2 separate regions of the Homo sapiens genome follow, and region 1 is linked to region 2. Evidence: promoter capture Hi-C in human tissues and cell types (Jung and others, 2019). All regions are on one chromosome and are shown on one strand. The core of a region is centred on a gene start or on the middle of the fragment in contact, and the rest is flanking DNA. Distances in the headings are between cores, read along the strand shown. Region 1 overlaps CYP39A1 (cytochrome P450 family 39 subfamily A member 1). Region 2 holds the start of RCAN2 (regulator of calcineurin 2).

Region 1 (2,700 bases), core at 102-2,601, 97 kb after region 2:
TGTGGCCCAGCTGTCTCACTGACCTTGCAGGACACTGGAACTTCCCGCTTCCAAATGCCATGAAGCAGTCCAAGAAAGAGTGCTTCTCTAAATTTGCCTTTTTCCAACGTTCCTGTGGGAAGAAAACATTTTTTTTTCCAAATCAGCCTTATATAAATAAGCTTAACTTTATTTCTCTAGGCTAAAAATGACCTTGTACAGCTAATCCTTGCATATAAAGTTGCAGGGTTGTTGGTAATTTTTTCCACCCTGTTATTAATATTAGACACAATTGTGTTTCTGGAACATGAACTTATAAATAAAAAGGTTTTTAAAAAATTCTGTTAAGTGGTAAATGTAAATGATAAGGTAAATCAACCACAGAATTGACCTAAGAAGAGGAAGAATATTTATAATAAGGTCTCAGGCTCCGTCATAAAATTGCTCTTGGTAATAAATTTAGTAGTAAGACACTGACATCCCTGCCTGTTAGAAAAAGCTTGGGATGCAGAATGAATGCATCTGGATGCCATTTTTGACAGTTTTACCTAAAGGCAGAGAACAGACTAAATGACCTCTTAACATTCTGTTCGGCCCTGTAACTTTCCAGTTCTAAGAAACAGCAGATCACGGTTTTAATTTGCTTTATTTGTATTTTTTTGTACTCCTTGGAAACCAATGACAGAAGCAATTGCCTGAAGAACATGAAATAAGTCTTCTATCAAAAACAGGCTTATTCACTTGAACATGCCCTTCTGGTTTCATGTAAAATGTATTTTAAAGTTAGAGAAGTTTACTACAAAAACTTTTCTAACTGATTTGTAAATGTTGCACTATCTATATTGCAAATCTGTTCTGTACTTTGTAGTCAACTTTGTTCTTAGTTACGAGAGAAATATGGCTGCTTAATTATATAGTCCTAATTAATTTCTGAATTTACCCTTCTGAAATAAAAAGAAATTAAAATGAAAGAATAATATATACTGAAAGAGATAACTTACAGGTTTGAACAATTCAGGCTCAGGAAAATACTTTGGATTTCTATGCAGCCAAAATGGAGACAACATCAACAAGTCACCAGAAGGAATGATGTAATTCTATAACAGAAAAATCAGCTGCAAATCATTTTTTTGAAATATACTTTAAAGAGAATTTGGGCCACTAAAAATGATGCTACAATTATATTGTGGTGAAGATATACCTTTTATAATTGAATGTGAGAAAATCTAATTTTTAATATCTATATAATTATATAATATCTAATTATAAATAATATAAAATCTAATAATATAGTATCTATATAATTCTGATTTCCATATACATATATTTGGTTACATAGAGGAAATTATATAATTCTGATTCACATGTACATATATTCAGTTATATGGAAGGAAATATTAGCTAAATGTCAAAATTTTAGAAACTAGTATAAGTCCCTTCTAATGTACCTTTTGATGTTTGATATTAGGGTTTGTGGCCAGAGTTCTTGAAGGCAGAAACTACAGTGGAGGCTCAGGTTATGAAACAGAAAAATTGGACTCTGAGACAGGGACAATGGCCATGGTAGCACTGAGAAGAGGGGCAGAGGATGTCCTGTTCTTGTGGATACTAATGACAGTGTTAGAGCAGGGGCAGTGGACTTTTCTTTCCTCAGTCCAGCACCGGTTATTAGGAAAGAAACAAATGAAAAACGACTGGTTAGGAAGACACAGGAAAAGGCAAGTGTTGTGTATTTGTTTGGTTGGGTTTGTGTTTGGGGTCACAGTGCTTGTGGAAATGAGGATAAACAATGTGTTTCCTCAGGTAGTCTACATTATCCTTCCTGATTCATATGACAACAGATTTTCATGATCTATAAACTATACAAAGAACTAAAACCCATTTCACAAAATCTCCCTATCATCACCATGTTCAGGAATCACAGGACAAAGAGATCTCCCAAGTTTTATAATTGCTAGATAGCTACCAACTTTACTAAGGTAGAGATATTTTATTAGGTAATTCCCACTGCCCATCATCATAAGCCACATCTATTTAACCGTGTATAATTTTGAAATGTCCTCAAGATATTTGAAAAACTTTTACTTTAGGTTTACTTATCCAAAGCATAAACACCTTACAATTAAAAACATGTCTTCTGCTGGGTGTGGTGGCTCATGCCTGTAATCCTAGCACTTTGGGAGGCCTTGGTCGGAGGATCCTTTGAGCTCAGGAGTTTGAGACCAGCCTAGGCAACATAGGAAGACCTTGTCTCTACAAAAAAATGAAAAATATTAGCTGGGGATGATGGTGCACCTGTAGTCTCAGCTACTTGGGTGGTTGAGACAGGAGGATTGCTTGAGCCCAGGAGGTTGAGGGTACAGTGAGCTATGATTGTGCCACTGTACTCTAGCCTGGGAGACAGAGTGACATTCTGTCTCGAAGAAAAATAAAAATATGTCTTTTACTGGTAGCTATGAGTGGAGTATGGGTAGGGATGTCATCATTTTTTTAACCCAGGAGAACCCCTGTTGGCTCTAGTGGCAGCTGAGTATTGCTTGAGATTTGGCAATTTCAGAACTGGGAGAGCTGGAGAGACTCAAATCCAAGACTGGGAAGACAGTGAAGCTTTTGCAGGTACCTTCTATCATTTTAAAATAGAGAGACCTGTGAGATCCCAATCCTGTCTGTTTTACTTCCATTGGAACTGAGGCTAGAGAGGTCATTACTGACTCTGGAATC
Region 2 (2,700 bases), core at 4-2,503:
TGGCTGAAGGGAGAGAGAAGTGTGAGCTGGAATGCTGTGACATCCCTTCATCTCCAATTGTGGAAAACTGTGGGAATGCATATTAAAGGAACCCCAGAAACTTTTGTTTTTACTAAACTGAGACTTAAAAAAACTTCATTTGGCAGTTGAACACCTCTATCCCATTGTAAGAAACAGGAAAGATTCAAAGCATGCATTCTGCTATAATTCATTTTGGGATAAGAAATAGGCAGAAGTACCTCGAAGAATAAATCATTAACTAAAAGGCAAACCGAGGCACCCTGGAAACCAGCGAGACCTGGAGGCGGCCGAGGGATCAGGCGGCTGGGATTTGCCTGTTCCCTCTGGTGACTTCTGGAGCGAAGCATCCCACAGGCAGGACGAACCCGGCACACTGCGCTCCGCTCCATTTCACTTTTCAAACTTGAAGTTATTTTTAGATGACCCAAGGCCGCTAATCCCAAGCAGGACAATTCTCAGCCCGCTGCACCTCAGTGCACCTACCCCCTCCCCAGCCTCTGCATTGGGAAGAAGGGATCTCTCGATCTTCTTTGCTCTCTGCATCCAGTTAGTCTCTTCTAGACCCTCTCTAAGCCTCAGTCCCGGGGATCACAGGCGTCATCCTCGCTCCTTCACTTATGCACCTGCTGCTGCTTCCAGGAAGGCAAACCCCCGGGCCACGGGCAGTGGGGAAGGGGCTCCTTTGGACCCGCGCCCCCTAGAGGGGGGTCGCGGGAGATCTCCGTCCCCACGGCCGCAGCCGGGACTGACCACAGATCTGGAGACAAACCCCACCCCCGCCACTGCCCCCACCCCCGCCACCGCCCCCGCCCCCGCCCCCGCCCCCGCCCTGCACCCAGACCCGGCCCGGAGACCAGATCCCCGCCGCGGACCCCCGGCACGACCCCGGGGCTGCTGTCAGCCCCGGCGGGACGGGGTGCCTGGGCGAGCCTGGCCGGCGCGGTTACATAACCGACCTGCTGGGCGTCCGCGATGCGCCGGCGGAGGCGGAGGCGGAGGCGGCGGCTGGGGCGTCTACGGGGGCCAGCTGCTAGCGCGCGGCGCTGCCTGCTCACCTGCCCGCCGGTGCGAGCGCGTGGGGGCGGCGCGGTGCCCGCGGGCCTTTGCGTGGGGCCGTACGCGGCGCGGCGCGCCCCGCCTCCCTCTCTCTGCCGCCGTGGGTCAGTGGGATTCTGCCTGCTGCCCGCTCCTCCCCGCAACCTCCGCCGCCGTCACCCGGGACAAAGCGGCTCCAGGGAGGGGCTGAGCCGGCGGCTCTCGCAGGAGCCGGCGGAGATGGGCGCGTCCCCAGCTCCGACTCATCGGGCCAACCTCCAATCAGACCCAGGGAAACCGAAAGCCCCTGTCTGGCCTCTTCTCATCTCCTCCCTCCTGACCCGGCGCCCTCCCCAGTCCCCTACCCACCGCACCTCCGGGGCTCTCACCCTGCCCTCAGCCCCGCACCCCCTCCTTTCCACTTCAGGTGCCCGGGAGGGCGCAGGAGCCTCCGGGCACCTGGCGTGGGAGCCTGGCTGCAGGAGTCCCGGCCTCAGCGGGAAGAGGCTCCTCGGGGTCCCATACTAAGCTGAGGGTGAGGGGGCAGCGACAGCCCAGAAGAAATGGTCAGAGAAGCAAACTGTGGTGGGGGAGTACTGGGAGAAAGACTCTTCTTACCAGATGTCTGAGCCCCCCGACTCTGGCTAACTGAGGAAATGTCGGGGAGCCCCTGGATGGTCCTCCCGGGCTTCTGCGCTTGGTGGGCGCTGGCGCCCTCTGGCTGGAGCCCTGCGCCCGGCCCAGCCCAGGCCGCTGAGGGTGCCCTGCGCGGGCTTCACAGCTTTGCCAGGATTTGCAGCCATCAGACCTGAGGACAGAAGGGTTCGGGCTGCAAGGAATCCTATTGTGTGAGAGCCATGACACAGTGAGTGGGAGGTTGGTATCCTACAGCAAACGGGACTGAAGGTGAATCGCAATCTAGGGTAGATCTGTTGCTCAACAAAGTTAACCCCAGTAGAAGTCTCTGCTTTACGGAATAAAGCAACTCAAATGGGTAAGGAAGCCTGTGGCTTACGGGTGGCACAGATAGGAACAGGACTGAGTCTCATGGCAAGAGAATGTGAATTATGCAAAAGATCATAGGAGAGTGCGGGAAATTAAAGGAAGGAGGTGTGCAGACCAATCTGAGGGAGGGAGTGAATAACATTTAAATCAGGTTTGTGTTCTGTCATCTTTCGAATTGCTGCATAAATAAGCCGTTTTCTTTTTGCTTTTTATGCCTTTTGATTTTCTGATAACAATATTACGATTGCACTGAAGCAGTCCATTCACAATCATTCTTCACTTACCCACACTACGTTGTTTTTTTCCAAAGTTGACATACAATCACGTTTTGTTTGTTTTCAACAAAAAAAGGTAGACGAGACGTTGGCTCTTCTCTCTGATTAATCTGCATTAACATAAACACAATTTCAGAATTGAAAATGACCTTAGGCTTCCCCTCGTTCAGCCTTCCCCTGGATGCATAAATCTGTAATTAGTCGTTGATTTAGATAATTGCCATTTGGGTTAGAATTGTCTGAAAGGGCATTCTTAAGTTGAGCAAAAACTTGCCTCCCTTTAATCATTAGTTCTCCCTTACTTTTTGAAGCCAAAGAAACCAAGTCAAATTCCTCTTCTAACTATCTTTAAAATATGTAAAAA

What was found. Contacts are between HindIII fragments. The study calls those that stand out against the background at their distance.
Region 1: a fragment that was not itself captured here is called in contact with the fragment with the promoter of RCAN2 in region 2 in 2 of the 25 tissues and cell types used here (aorta and hippocampus).

Annotation. Positions count from the first base shown.
Region 1 is chr6:46,587,054-46,589,753 of GRCh38, forward strand. CYP39A1 (cytochrome P450 family 39 subfamily A member 1) reads right to left here. Exons shown (of 12, transcript NM_016593.5): 9 at 981-1,076; 10 at 24-112. Among named protein-coding and RNA genes, the nearest start is that of CYP39A1, 64 kb to the right of the region's middle. The HindIII fragment of the contact is 3,147 bases long and covers 1-2,700 here.
Region 2 is chr6:46,490,196-46,492,895 of GRCh38, forward strand. It overlaps RCAN2 (regulator of calcineurin 2), which reads right to left and starts at 1,254. Exons shown (of 5, transcript NM_001251974.2): 1 at 978-1,254. It overlaps RCAN2-DT (RCAN2 divergent transcript), which reads left to right and starts at 1,857. Exons shown (of 3, transcript NR_125837.1): 1 at 1,857-1,932. RefSeq lists silencers at 1,217-1,306, 1,817-1,876. The HindIII fragment of the contact is 8,830 bases long and covers 1-2,700 here.